2 separate regions of the Homo sapiens genome follow, and region 2 is linked to region 1. Evidence: promoter capture Hi-C in 16 types of primary human blood cells and fetal thymus (Javierre and others, 2016). All regions are on one chromosome and are shown on one strand. The core of a region is centred on a gene start or on the middle of the fragment in contact, and the rest is flanking DNA. Distances in the headings are between cores, read along the strand shown. Region 1 holds the start of LINC00970 (long intergenic non-protein coding RNA 970). Region 2 overlaps LOC125312414 (a long non-coding RNA gene).

Region 1 (7,793 bases), core at 1,619-4,118:
AAAAACGAAAAACAATGTTCTCAGTGTTTGAAGAGCTTAGTAGAAATCTAGATTTTTATATGGTGTTTTGCCTAGATTTCCTTTTGATTTGTAGGATTTTTATATAAATTATTTATATAAAATAATAAAAATAATATAAATATATATTTATATTAATATATTATTATAAAATAATATAAATAATAATTATTTGTATGCTTATTTATGCAATCAGTTATAAACACCCCATACAGAGCAATTTCATTTTAATTTTTTTGTTTTGGAGCGCAGTGGTGCTATTTCAGCTCACTGCAACCTCCTCCTCCTGGGTTCAAGCAATTCTTGTGCCACAGCCTCCCAAGTAGCTGGGATTACAGGTGTCTGCCACCACACCATGCCGATTTTTGTATTTTTTGTAGAGACGGTGTTTTGCCATGTTGGCCAGGCTGGTCTCAAACTCCTGGCCTCAAGAGATCCGCCCACCTTGGCCTTCCAAAGTGCTGGCATTACAGGCATGAGCCATTGTGCCCGGCCCATTTCAGTTTCTGCTACAGCACTAAACTTACGTTTCTTAAAGGTAGGCCTTATGTCTTCATCAAGGAATCCTAAATTGTTAGACCTGAAAGGAACGTGAGAGATCATATTATGGCTGATGATATCTTTTTCTGTTTCCCTCACATGACCTGGCACCATACCTTGTATACAGTAGGGGGTTTAATAAATAGCAATTGTGTAAGTAGATAAATGCTTTGTACGCTTTGTAATTTGACCTCTCCCCCATATCGTCTATGAACAATGATACAGGAACAATTTGAATCTCTGAACACAATTATTATGTGTTTTATGCAATCATAACCACTCCTATAGGAGTTTGCTTGTTTTTGTAAGTGTTTTCCTCCTGAAATGACCTTTACTATCAGTTAGGTTTAGCTTAGAATATGAATTCCATGTATTCAAGTATTTTGTAGAAAAAATACCTCTGTCCTCTGTGATCATATTAGAGCTACCTGATGACAAAAACAGCATTTGGGTAACACCATGAAACTGCATCACTCACTGTACTTACTTCATCAGTATATCGTCTGTACCAAGCCTGGAAACCAGTTTACCTCTGCCCTGGCTTTAGGGCTGACTTCATCGGTGTGCAATCTATGCAGTTACACGGCGTCCTTAGCTTAGTGGAACCCCCTGCTTGGATTAATGCTCAGTTGTCACCTTTTTGAAATTCTTAATAAATTTTCTGGCAAGTGCCCTGCATTTTCATTTTGCACTGGACTCTGCAAATTATGTAGCAGGTCCCGACTCCCTGTCTGTGTTTGAGCATTTTCTCTCTCCCTTTCACATCCTCCAATCCGGCTTTCCAAAGGCAGAGACATCACATACACTCATCTTAGTGGGACCTGAAACATCTGCCAGGCCTTTAGAATAAACTAGTAAGTGAAGTATTCAAAATAAATGGATATTCATACATACTGGCAAACTAATGGAATGGAATGATCATGCATAAATCATTGACTGGTGCCAGCCACTGAGCTATGGGTTTATATACTAATTTTGTTTAACTGCCACCTCAAACCTGTGAGAGAGTGCTATTATTCTGATTTTACAAATGGGAGAAGGGAGGCTCAGGAAGGTCAGTAAGTGGCAGAGCTCACACACTGAGTTCTGATGTGTCTGAGTCCAAAGCCCATTCCCATTTCACTGCATTCCTAACTGAGGCCTGGAAAACTTACCCCTGAGATCACAGCATTGCCTGAGAGGAAAAAGGACTTTTCCTATGGTTTTCACACTTTCACTTTTTGCACTGGATCTTTCAGTTGTCTGGTTAACAACTAGGTTACGTCATTCTATATGGGGCTTTCAGATACAGAGCAACTTTCCCAGGACCACCCATTAAACTAGAAGTGAAGTGATATCGTTGTTCTCACTATGATGGTAGGGTGAAGGAAGCAGATTGGCCATGCCAAAACTGATGTCCTCTGAGATCCCGAGGCCCAAGCCAACATTTGACGGCATACCTCACTCAACAACACTTTTACCTGTGTAATAGAAAACAACAGCCATTTATAACTCGCTTATTCATTTTTTTTTTCCACAGGCCTCTGCGCAGCATCTGCTATGTGCAGGCACTGTGCTAGGCCCTGTGGAGACAATAATGAAAAAGATATAGCCCCTGCTTTTCAGATGGTCACAAATTGGCAGAAGGGTGCAAACTCATAACTCTCTTTATTCCAACATTTTGCCAGCTCTGGTTGTAAAGTTGAGGAGTTAGGAGTTGGAGTAAATTTAGGAAATGGGTAGAATATTATTTTTGCAGCTCATTGGAATTCTCCCTTGTTACAGATCAGGGTCCTGGGTTGGGTGGCATACCTATGCCTGTCATTATTTGCATCCCTGGTTTAACAGCTGGCTCTGGCCAATCTTATACGATCCTCTACCTTAGCAAACAGAAACACAGTTTTTGAAAATTCACATGAAGAAGAGTTGAATAGCAAATAAGTTCAGCCTTGAGGCTCCACCTATTACCTGGCTGTTGAGCTTTGTAAAACCATTGATTGTTTAACAGCCAGCAGGGCAAGAAGGCCAGAATTATGCTCAGCAAATGCAGAAACAGAGCACAGTTGTCTGTGTGTGTTTCCATGGTAACAGTGATAACAGCTTATATTTATAGACTCTCTATCTCCAAGGAGCTCAAAGCACTTTACAAACACATCATCTCTCTTCTATAGGAAAAAGAGAGAAGGAGAGAGAGGGGGATAGGAAGAGAGGTAGAGAGAGAGAAAGAAAGGGAGAGAGGGAGGGAGGAGGAAGGGAGAGAGGGAAGCAGGGAGGGAGAGAGAACAGGAGAAGAAGGAGGAGGTACAGAAGGACTTGGTGTGCTATTATGCACATTTCACAGATGGCACAGAGTGGGGAAGTCAGTGACCCAAGGTGGCAAGGTAAGCCAGTGACAGATGGTAGATTGGATGGACCTAGTGGCTCATATAACTCCTGGAACTTTTGCTGCTGGCCTTGAGCAGATGTCAGGGCTGAGCTGCTGTCTCCTAGTCATCTTGCTCTGTTCAGTGTCATCTAGGTGATCAGATAACTCCGGGGACATCAAAAGCAGTTTGGCTCAGTATTGTTGGTGGGAAACACAGGGAAAATTCTTCCATGGGGAGTTGGGGATAATGTCCAAAGTCCTTATAGCCAGACAGCCACCAGGCAATCCCAGACTGTGTTCCGAGGGATGACAGGCTCAGCTGTGCTGCACACTCATACTGAGGCTCTGCGCACATTGATGGAAATGGTTTTCTTCAAATAGAGCCCATTTCACAGTTTCTGAAGGACCTTTGGAGGAAATGCCTTTTGGGTACTTCTTTCTGAGACAACTATTAGACATGTGATGTGACTTGGAGTTATCTGAAGGCTGTAGCCTATGAAATTGAAAATGAGTTTTGTAAATCTCAGATCTACTATTTTCTGTATAAAATTCTTGTATGAATAGAGCCATGTCCTCTGGTGGAGGCCTGAACTCTTGGAGTGGGTTAGCATGAATCTCAAGCTCTTGAGTCCTGGAGCAGCCTGTCCCCATTCTTCTTTAGCCAGAGTTGGCCTTGGTCCCCACTTCTTACCCTCACAGGCCTTCTGTTTTCCCCCTCACTGCCACCTCACTCCACATTTAGCCTTTGGAAAATAGCAACTATTTTCTCTTCTAAAAAAGAGTCATTTTCTGCAGAGCATTCAGTCAATCCAGCCAGCAGTCCCCATGGCAACACTGAGATAAGATCCTTCCTCCCGCAGGTCTTCAGTGGTCTTGATAAACAGATCCCACCGGTTCCTGCAGCCCATGACCTCAGGCTGAAGCCAAAGATGAGCTTCTTGCCTGTTTAGGCTTCAGGGATGCTGGACTGAAGGGCTGATAGTTTGAGTAGCTGAGTCCCAGCAAAGTTTAAATGCTTTACAAATAGGCTTCTGACCCCCAAAGCAAAAATAAATTAAGCAAAGAACTTCCTGAAGGAGGAGGAGCAGTTGTTGGAGGGCCTTCTGGTTTCTGCACCATCTTAGTAGTTGACCTACATCCACCAGCGCCTGGAGGCTCACCCACCCAGGGGGAGTGAGTGGGCTCTTCCTCTGACCCTCTCAGGGTGGGCTGCACTCAGACTGAAGTTCTTTCTCTTCCTTCAAGATGCCAAGCTCCCTCTTACCTCCTGGCCTTGAGCTCCAAGCAGGAAGGAGCCCCAACCCCTGGTTTTGTGCCTGGTGCATACTCAGAATTTGTAAAGGAATGAACTCCTTTTGGCTGTTCCCTCCCTCCCTTAATCTTCACACCTTTTTCTTGGCCTTCCCAGTCCTCCTCCTTAAGGTCCCTCTTAGACACTCTGAAATTCCATCTCTCCCACTTCTTCCTATATAGTATTTTATCTTTCCCTCATTACAGCACTTATCACACACTATGGCAATTGCTTATTTTGATAGGAGTTTCTGGATGTCACTGAAACTGGCTTTTGGAGGTTTGTTGGAAACAGCATTTAAAGGTTTACTTCTGAATTAAAAATTAATATTCTGATTATTAAAGTTAGGATTAAAAACATAGTTTATTTGGGTTCAACTTATATGTGTAATTATTTTATTTTATATTTTTCCCAACTTTTAAGTTCAGGGGTACATGTACAGGTTTGTTACTATTTTATTTTTTAGTCTAGCAGAGTTTAGCAATCACTTCTAAAGGGCCTATGAATAAAGTTAATTACTTTCAAATAGTTTAAGCTATGATTATTAGTTATAATCGCCATCTCTTTCTTTTCCTATATGCATTTGTCTGTATTAACAAACTAAACTTTTTGGAGGACTTTAATACTCATATACATTTAAGCTCTTAAATGTATAAATATAGGATCCTAAGGTTCTCTTGTATGTTCCAGTAAACTTAAGAACTCAAAACCATAAAATTTCACATCAATTACTCAATTGTATTTTAAATGGGCCTTACAAGGCTATCATTCTAATAGGTCTGATTCTATTAAAAATTGCAAATACACAAAATAGCAACTATACACAATTTTATTCTTTAATACAAAATTATCAATACTATGGTTTGGGTCTCTCAAATCTTTCCATACTTAATTCTCAATCTTCCTGGTGTTAGGAAACACATAACCTACCTAAGGGAAGGCATTTGCCATCACAGGTAAATGAAGTTAGTTTTGCCCAGAAGATGGTCTTCCTGGTGACCATGATGGGACTTAGCCTTATTTAATGCTTATAGAGTCATAGGTTTTCACACTAAAGAGGCTGGTCTCCCACAGCCTTTGTCATTCCATCTGATTCTTTGTTTACTCAGAGGAAGCCTGTAGTTCCCATTCTTATTGATCACTTCACTGGATTTTGTATTTCCTTGTCCCTTAAGATTTGTCAGTATATTTACAAGTAACGCTAACTTAAACTTGATGGAATCGTAAGATTTATATACATTATCTTCTTGTTAATAATAAATACATTTGACCTTGATGGGGTTTCCTATTCTCTTATATTCTTAGGATCATACACGTCTTAGGGCTATTACACGTGATACTCTGTTGGGTTTTGTCTCACTCGTCATGACTCTTGAGGTCATTCTGCTTGCTGCTCCAAGGTCTCCTCCATTAGACTGTGAGCTTCCTGAGGGCAGGGCAAAGATGATTTGTTTGGAGTCATAAGCCCAGAATTCAGCATCTTTCTTGGCAAAGGACAGACATTATTGTCACTTGACCCTCCAGTTAAAGATAACCAGGAGCACACCTATCATTGAGCATCTTGGCCCTATTACTCATTGCAACGAGGCAGAATGCACACCGTGGACAACCATGGGGTATCTCAGTAAAAAGGGGCCAGAAGGACTTAGTAAAGGATTGGGCTTGTGTTAGGTTATTTTGAGAAGGGTTTAAAGAAGCAGGCTCTGCTCTGGATTGGATGCTATCAGAAAGTAGGAATAATTGAGTATGAGGAGTGAAGACTATAAGGAGTGAAGACTAGAATTAGGCTAAAGCTATGATTGCCAAAGAAGTAGCAGTCACTCATATTATCAGACTAGGGGAATGTTTAGGCATTTCTGAGATTTGAATAATGTTCACATTTTTGTCTGTTTATGTAAGATCAGAGGAGTGTTCTTGTTTTTGTCTTGCTCCATTATGGTCACAGAGTTTCCTCTGTTGTGTGAAGTTGTTTCTGTTTAACAGAACACCAAAACCTCTCTGTGAGTGCTGGGCCAGCTAGTAGCAACACTAGGGCCTAGCAGTGGTATCAGGGCAGCTCCCAGATGTCAGGGGCTGCTTTCTTTTTCTCACTATGCATATTTGAAAACAAATAAATGAAGGGATGTCTCATTTAACTCTTACTGCAATTCTGTAAGGGAGCTGTATTTCCATGTTATAAATTAAGAAACTGAAGCTCAGAGAGGTTCAGTAATTTGCAAAAAGTTGCAGAACTATTCAGTAGAAGAGCTGGGATTTTAATTTGGATCCACTGGACTCCAAAGCCCAGGCCACCACATGAATGAACAACCATTCTGGCACAAAACAGTTCTGAAAACTGGTCTGCTGCCTCATTCCTAATGGATGTATATTAGGATTAGAAGCCACTTATTGCTTGCATAAAGAATGAATCTTGTAATTCAAGTTGTTCCTGGAACTGAGGGTTATGATCTGTAGAGGAAAGTAAATTGACTGAGGAGTCCATGAAGAAGTCTGAGGAGAATGTGAGGGTGGTAGATGTTGGTACACACACAATCTGTGAGCTTCTTAAACCTAAAGACAGTGGGCAAAGTAGTAATCTTGATTGGGTTGACAACCGAAAGCCAGTTTCCTACCTGGCAGTAAACCTACAGACCCATGTCCAAATGTGATAGGTTTCCCCAGAACATAAAAGAAACCACCCACCACAAATGCCACCAATAAACATAATAAGATAATTGAAACGTGTGGAATAACGTAAACTTCCACTTATTTCGGAACTGTATGATATACTTCATTGTAGAAATGGTCCTGCAGACTCTTGATCAGAGTTCATAAAAGTTTCATTTGTAACTGCTTGCCTATAAGGGGCCCATATTCTCAAAAGGCACTGGGGCTGGCAGGGAAGTTTTGATTTGAATTTCTTGCAATGTTAACTGGCTTTCAATCTTATTGCAGATCATTAACAAAGTCATTACTGTGGCGTGCAAGATTCTATACCTTAACCCTGGCTGCACATTCTTAATTATTTGGTGAATTTTTTTTTTCATAGCAATGGGATCTCACTGTGTTGTCCAGGCTAGTCTTGAACTCCTGGGCTCAAGTGATCCTTCCACATCAGCCTCCCAAGTAGCTGAGACTACAGGCACATCCCTTGGCACCTGGGCTGTGATTTCAGGAGATTTTTAAATATTTTCATGCCAAGATCCCACCCTGGACCAACTGAATCAGAATCTCTGGGAGTGAGGTTTATATAGGGATCTTTTTCATTATGGTATAATTGACATACAAGAAATTGCACATATTTAAAGTATACAGTTTGGTAAGTTTGATATATATAACCCCCATGAAAGCATTACCATAATCAAGATAGTAAACATATCCATCACACCCAAAACTTTCCAAAGTTTTGTGTCCCTTTGTAATCCTTTCCTCTGACCTCACACCCCCCAGCAACCAGTGATCTGCTCTCTGACACTATAGGTTAATTTGCATTTTCTCGAGTTTTACCTTAATGTAATCATGAGTATGTACTCATTAAAAAAATCTGCCTTTTTTTTTACTTGACATAATTATTTTTGAGATCCATCTGTGTTGTTGCATATATCATGGGTATTTTCTTTT
Region 2 (7,793 bases), core at 2,601-5,100, 660 kb after region 1:
TGGTGCCATCTTAGGTGGGGTAGCCATTAATTACAAAATCATACAAATTCCACAGGTGCCAGGTCTAAAACATGGTCCCAGGGGAAGAGGATTAACATTTACTGAGAATCCTCTATAGATCAAAAACACTAAAAGTATTGTTGTTTATTACTAATTAGTCTCTGTAACTGTCTTAGGAGATATCCCAACATTCCAGACAAGGAAATTGAGGCCTACACGGGTTAAGTAGCTAGTCCAAGATCTTACATCTAAGAGGCTGAGCCAGCATTCAAACTGAGTTGATCTCATTTAAAAAAAAAAAAATGCTTTTCCAACTTCATACTGCCTCCCACGAGTTCAAAAGGCATGAGACCTCAAGGCTACCACAAGAAAATACAGAGAGTTGAGTTCACACCAGTCCACTGAGCCCCTGAGGGATGTTCAGAGACCTCGGGGAGCAGATGGGTGGAAGTGCCTGTTCCCAGGGAAAGGGTCCTTCAGTGCTGCTTCCTGCCCTTTTCTCCCCTCTGCAAAGCCACACTGTGCTCCGGGGACACTTGGCTGCAGTGCCCTCACTCTTCACTTGCAGAGAAGCATCTGTCTCTGGCAGATCTTGGCTGTCCAGCTCCCCCCACTGCAGGCTGAAATGATTCATTCCTCAAGAAGGTGCCCAGCTTGTGCCTTGGGACCTGTCAGGATGAAGGATTCCAGTGGGGCTGCCTCTCACCATTTGTATGCTGATTTGGTTCCCTGAAATTCATTCTTATGCTCATTGCCTTTTCCATAGTGTCCCTCCCTCTCCACTTTTCCTTTTTCTGATATAGTACAGCAATGTATTTGGCCTCTCTTGCATTCTAAAAATAATTCTGGACTAGGGCTTTTTTCTTTGCAATTGCAGAGCTGCCTGGGCTCACAGTGTTCTATCCGTAGAACATAACCCTCTGTTTACTGAGTAAGATATGTCTGGAAATGTTTTTCTGGGCAAGTTGTCCCAAAGGGTTAATATACTGAGGAGGCGACAGAATAAGCATTTGCTGAAGGGATTATTTCTAAAAACACTTTAGACATAGATGATGAGGGGGAGCAGTGATCAATTGATAGATGTCCTTACAGATCATCTAAGCCAACCTGGAGCAGAATATAAAATGCCTCTCACGATCTTTAAAAGGTGATCAACTAGGCCGGGCGCGGTGGCTCACGCCTGTAATCCCAGCACTTTGGGAGGCCAAGGCAGGCAGATCACAAGGTCAGGAGATCGAGACCATCCTGGCCAACATGATGAAACCCTGTCTCTACTAAAAATACAAAAATTAGCTGGGCATGGTGGCGCGTGCCTGTAATCCCAGCTACTCGGATGGCTGAGGCAGGAGAATGGCGTGAACCCGGGAGACAGAGCTTGCAGTGAGCCAAGATCGCACCACTGCACTCCAGCCTGGCGACATAATGAGATTCCATCCCAAAAAAATAAAAAAAGTGATCAACTAAGCTCCCTCCAAAAACAGATAGATGATAGATAGATAGGTAGATAGACAGACTCAATTTTGTGCCAAGCAGTATATAGGATTTAGTGCTATGTGATGGTAAATAAAATAAATATAAGATGTACATGAATGATATAAATATATAGATGGTATAAGATGACAAAAGAATAAATTAATTAATTTGGAGATAAAATATACCCAGATCTGGTCCTCATGATGAAATCTCCCTCCTGGTTTTGCCACCACTTGGCTAACTTTCCAGAGCTGCCACCCAGGGCAGCAGGCATTTCTCTTTCAGAAGCTTTGCTTCCGGAATCAGGAACTTCCTCCCCAGCTGCCTACCCAGTTCTCCATAAGAAAGCATATTCTACAGTGTCAGAAAGTCTCAGGATACAATATATGCACAGATTAAGCAAAAGGCACATCATTGCACATTCCACAGTGCCCCCTGGTACTGGTTGACATGTAAATGGAGTTTCTGCAGCTAGTTCCAATTCCCTAGTTTAAATCATATCTCTCTCATTCAGCATTTCTGCACATTAAAAAATAAACAGACAGAGGCTTCCCCAAGTGAAGCCACCCTCTCTGCCACCAGCCACATCAGATTGGACCTTACCTGTCCCTTTGGCTTCCCTTCTCCTGGGATCCCAGCCCCCAGATCCAGTCCTGGAATGCTTCCTGCTCAAAAATTTGTTTTTGATCATTACACCTTCTAAAAATAAGTATCGTATGGCCTGGCACTCACCCCAGTGTTCCTTTCCAGGACTTCCATTTCCATCCGCATCCTGGCCCTCCTCCCAGGTGATTCTCAAGTCTGGTCCCATTTCAGGGTCAGCACTAGCAGGACCTTAGTGGACTGAAAACCCAATCACAATGTTACTATCCTAGCCCCACCGGCCAGTACATGCACACCATCTGAACACATTACTCTTGGCAGAAAAGATTCTGGCCTAGAGTCAGTTGAGGGGAAACAAGAATGATGTCTACTAGGAAATCAAGCTAGTGATTTGATTGTTTTATGGAATCATAGATTCTTAGACTTGAAAATAGCTTTAGAGGTCACCTAGGCCAACCTCTAACCTAAGGCCAAATGCAAATTGTCCCCTTTGATATTTGGAAGATGACCATCTGAGCTCCCCCATTATGCAAGACAAAATTATCAGTACCCTCCCAAATACATCTAAGGATGCCCAGAAGTGCTTATGTTGTCCAAGATGTCTCTTATGCCTCTTCCAGATACCCCCTCTCTGTCCTTTATCCCTGGCCAACTCATAACAGCTTCTCCTGGCTGCCCAAGCTGCTCATCCTGTTCTCTGTAAAGCCAAGCCTGGACACTGGCATCCCCCTTCACTTCCTAAGACATTGCTAACTAAGGACTCTAGCATGTGACAAACTCTACCAGGGCCGAAAGACAGCACATGGGCAGAGGTTCTTCCTGATCATCTTTCTTCTTAGCATTAGCCTGCTACCTTGTGCTCAGAACCTGCCCTGCTCTCCTGAATGGGATGTTCCTTCCAACATCCCCTCTCCTGGGGCCCAGGCTCCTACCTTTAGTCTCTGGGTTTGTCAGCAGAAGCCAAAATCAGTCACCATTTATATCAGCTCAAATTAGGTTTACCTGTGAGTGACTGAAAACCCAAAATAACAGTAGCTTAACGAAGACCGTAGTTATTACTTCCTCCCATAAAAGTCTGGGTGCTTACCAGGCTGGTCCATGGTGTCAGGGACAAAGACTCCTTCTCTTTTGTTGACCAGTCCTGCAGAGCCCTTGTTAATGACTGGAAGGGGCTTCAACCATCCCAGCCACATCCAAGAATTGAAATGGGGGTAGGGGGAGAAGGAAGAGAGAGCATGCAGAAACTGTCCCATTGCATCCTGTTAGCCAAAACTTGATACCTAGAGACCCCTTGCTGCAAGGAGGCTGGAAAAAAATGTAGTCTTTATCCTGAGTAACCACGTACCTAGCTAGTATTTCCATAACAAAAGAAGAGGAAGAGAGGAAATATTAGGGGTAGGGGAGAAACATTAACTGTCTCTGCTGAGTAAATACGTCTGTTGATTCCAATTCATTGTTGACTTCACCCTTTCCTTTCTATGTCCTTCCCTCATAGCTGCCATCTTTTTTTTTCAGTCCCATTGTTCCTATTCTCATTCTTGTTCATGGATTCTCACCTAGGATTTTGCCACAGCCCCCCAACAGGCCTCTCTGCCCCGCAACTCACTCCTCTGCTTCTCCCCTTGGTGACCTTGCTAAGCAGAGCTGTTACCTCGGACCTCTCCAGGCCAAACTCCTTCAATAACTCTCCACTACCTGCAAAATGAAGATCAACTGCATGGCCAGACATTCCCTACTCCAAACTGGCTGTAGGGTTAGGCTTTATTTTGCAAGTGGTGGGAATTCATCAAAGGTGTGTGGACTAGAGAGGTACAAAGTAACAGCTCTGCTCAGCAAATATAACCAAACAGACCTTGTGTTTGACTTTGGCTTCCCCACTTCACCCTCCATCTTTGCCTCTCAAACTCCCACCCATGTTTCAAGATCCAACTTGACTGTCATCTGCTCTATGAGCATTTTCCAGTTCCAGCCTTTGTCCTAGCTCTGCCAGTGTCACCCTTAAATACACACACACACACACACACACACACACAAACACACTCCATCACCTCCCTCACCTTCTCTGCTTCTGTGTTACTGTTTCATTTCATTTTGTTTCCTCTGTATTGCAGAGATGATGACTTTGTGTCTGTGAATCCATCTATCCCCAGCACTCTGGTAATGTGGACCATGCCTTGTTCATCTGTCTCCCACCCAGGGACTTGGACAAAGTGCTCAGTTGACATTCATTAAACTGATCATCGGTACCAAGAAATTACAAATAGATGCGTAAAAATCTGGAAACAGTCTTTCTCAGCAACCATTCCAGAATTACAAACTTTCTCTAGCATGACCGTAGGATCTAAATGCAGTTCCAGTGGAATTAAATGTATGGGTTGTTTTGTGTCTATAGCATGACTCCTTCCTGTCTGAGAACTTTCTGGAACCCAAATTGCTAGTGCAGCTGGAATCAGGGTGTCTGACAAGAGGCAGCTGTCACTTCACATTTTGCAAAATATTTCCACAAAAATTGCCCCAAAATGCAAAAATCTTTCATTAGGAAGAGCTGATTCATGGAATTTATAATAGGAATCCTGTATGGCTGCATAATTCAGTAGAGGAAAATAGAAAAGAATAAACAAGTATTGGTCTCTCCAGGCCATTCCTTTTGAAGCCAAGTCAGGGCACAGAGCACTATGGACACTGCATGACCAGCCTGGTTGAAGGCAATGTTGGAGATAAACTTTCCCACACAGAAACCCTTCTCAGCCCTGAGTCTCTGTAAAAATGCACAGCTCTTGCATGTACATAGAGACTTCTCTTCCCCAGGCAGAGGAGTCAACGTGAAAGCCAAAGCCAAAGCACACTAGCCCTTCAGAGATCAAAAACCCTGTGACACTCTCAGAATACCTGTGTCCTGACAGATATTCAGCAAAATATTTTGTGACAGTGTCACCATAACCTCTTTGGAACACAGGGCTGTAGGTCCCATCCTTCCTGCCTTTCTATGTACATCTCATGTGGAATCTTTCTCTCTCTAGTACATTCAACCTCCTTCTAACAACTGGTTTCTTCCAGTTAATTTTTTTTAATAGAGATGAGGTCTTGCTATGTTGCCCAGACTGGTCTCAAACTCCTGGCCTCAAGCGATCCTCCCGCCTCTGCCTCCCAAAGTGCTGGCATTATAGGCATAAGCCACTGTGCCCGGCCCCTCCAGTTGACTTTTAATGCCTAAACTTTTCACTTGAGAAAAATTAGCTTCCCTCAGGCTTCCTTTCGCTGGCTCCTCCCCTTCTCCCTGTACTTTACTTGTTAAGATTCCTCAGGGTCAATCATTAGAACTCAATGATTCTCCCTCTACACTATCCCTGGAAATTTTCACCCATACCCACAGCTTCCATAACCACCAATTCCCACATGACCCATAGTTTTCTGTGTCGAACCCAGATGCCTTCCAGCCCCATGCCCATCAGCCCAGCTGCCTACTTATCATCTCCGTTAGATATCTCAAAAGCATCTCAGATTAATCAGGTCCAAAACCAAATCCTCATTTCCATCTCCCAATCCTCCAGACAAAGAAACAATAAAAAAAGACAAGACTCTTCTCCTAGTGTTTCCTAACTTCCTGAATGATACCAACCAGGTGGATAAGCAGAAACCAGAACCCATCATGGGCATCATCTTTTCCATGCTATTCCCCAAAGCCAATCTAGCACCAAATCATATTAATTTACCTGCTGAATACCTTTCAGATCCTTCAGCTCTTCATATGTTTCCCTTCACAGGCCTTTCACGTGACGTTCCATGGCCTAGAAAGCTCCTCCTTCCCTCTCCTGGCTACCTGGTCAATGATCAGGTCAATGATAACAGGCTACAGAAGCTTTTGATAATAAAGGCAAAGAATCCCGAACACCACTCCAGCACTGATAAATGACTGTGGAGATCTATATCCCTGAAATCATGCTGAAAAGACCCTATTTTCTTTAGGAAAATGTTTCCCAGCTCTTAATCAATTCACTGAAAACCAATTGCCAGAGAGGTACTTCCACAGACTCACTGTTAGGCAAGTTGACTTGCTTCCATGTTTCTCCAAGTGTGATCCTGATCCCTGGGTCATCTATACTAGAAGGTTTATTAGAAACACAAGCTATCCCAGACCCAGAGACCCAGGAACCTGAATCTTAACTACCCCCAGGTGATTCAGATGCAAGCTAAAATTTGAAATCAAGACTGCAGTTCTAGAGAGTAGAATTCCATGCTTTGCAACTGTCTTAAGCCAGCCTTCATTTGTCTCCTAGCAACCCTTGAGCAATGACAAGTACCTGCCAAACACTGTTGTGAAAACCTCTCTCCTGGGAAAACAAAAGTATTTTGCTTTCTAAATTCTATAGGAATAAAGCTGCTTTAGAAAAGGATAATTTGGCCACCAAGGTAGTTGGGAGAGATAGTTTTCTCTTTGGAGCTGAGCTGAGGGTGCTTATAAGACCCTCTGGCCACCGGGCTAGGTCCAGGACTGACCTTGGGAAGTAGGGCCAGCAGGAGGCAGAGCTTTGCAAGGTCTTGGCATCTGGGAGTTAGAGAGAGGCTTCAGCCATGGATAGCCTTGTGACCTTGAGCTGCAGTACCTCCATATGGACCAAGAGGGTTAGGAGATGGACAGGGATCAGGGGAGAACTGCTTTGCTTGAAATATGACAAAAAACCCCTATCCTATGATAAGTCTCTATGTCTCCTGTATTTATTTCACTTTAGGTCATGACATTTTGAGCACAATTGTGTGTGGGATGCATTCATCAATAGAGCTGGAAGCACCAACCACCATAGGAGGTAAAGTATTGTAATAATAATAATAATGAAGATAGATGATTGATAGATAGATAGATAGATAGATAGATAGATAGATAGATAGATACTTTTTATGTGCGGTTACTATATAACTAGAACTCTATGTTCACCTGCTATAATCTCTTCAACATCTATGGAAAGTAGACAAAAGTATTAGCACAACACAGAAGAAAAAACAAAACTAAAGTATGAAATGTATAGTAATTTTCCCAAGGTCATGCAGCTAGAAGAGTGGAGCTGGGATCTGGACCCAGATCTGTGCCTTTCCACTGAGCCATGATAAGTGGTAAGTTAAACCTATGTGGGGTACTGATGAGTCCATTCCATCCTCATGCAAAGCCACCTCCTCCACTGGGATCCCCGAATTTTAGTTTCCCTTCCTACTTCCACTTTACTTTCTGCTTCTGTACATTTAATTATTTTAGATTCCCCATGTAAATGAGTTTTTCTTCCTGTTTGCATCACCCCAAACCCACTATCACTAATCATCTTCCTGTCATTCAAGCACCTATGCTTGCACGCTGAGATGTACCAAAAGGAAGACCACAACTTCAAGTCTTCAAACAGTCCCTGAAAACATATGAGTCATTTGCTGTTGTGCACAATTTATCTTTTTAAGTTTGTGTATTGAGTTAGCTTAAAGTATGTTCCTAGCCTGACTTACGGAGGAATTTCAGATCTGCTGACTAGTAAACAACAGAACAAGGTTGGCCCCCTTAGTGGGCAGCAATGAGATAAAATAGAGTTCCCTGATGAGATGCTCATATCAGGATCTTGCTTGAATAAATCAGCTTTGAAAGACATTTGGAAACCACCGGAAATTTTCAATATAGACTAAGTATCAGCTGATGTTGAGAAATTATTATCAGTTTTGTTAGACTAAAGTGATACTGT

The links. Contacts are between HindIII fragments. The CHiCAGO score rates a contact against its expected background, and 5 or more counts as called.
Region 2: a contact is called between a fragment that was not itself captured here and the fragment with the promoter of LINC00970 in region 1, in 1 of 17 cell types (naive CD8 T cells). The highest score is 5.9, in naive CD8 T cells.

The regions. Positions count from the first base shown.
Region 1 is chr1:169,082,080-169,089,872 of GRCh38, reverse strand. It overlaps LINC00970 (long intergenic non-protein coding RNA 970), which reads left to right and starts at 2,868. Exons shown (of 5, transcript NR_104091.1): 1 at 2,868-2,918. The HindIII fragment of the contact is 14,978 bases long and covers 1-7,793 here.
Region 2 is chr1:168,421,218-168,429,010 of GRCh38, reverse strand. It overlaps LOC125312414 (a long non-coding RNA gene), which reads left to right. Exons shown (of 8, transcript NR_176090.1): 5 at 6,807-6,881. It overlaps LOC100505918 (a long non-coding RNA gene), which reads left to right and starts at 6,355. Exons shown (of 5, transcript NR_176059.1): 1 at 6,355-6,421; 2 at 6,807-6,881. RefSeq lists an enhancer at 467-1,008. The HindIII fragment of the contact is 4,174 bases long and covers 1,764-5,937 here.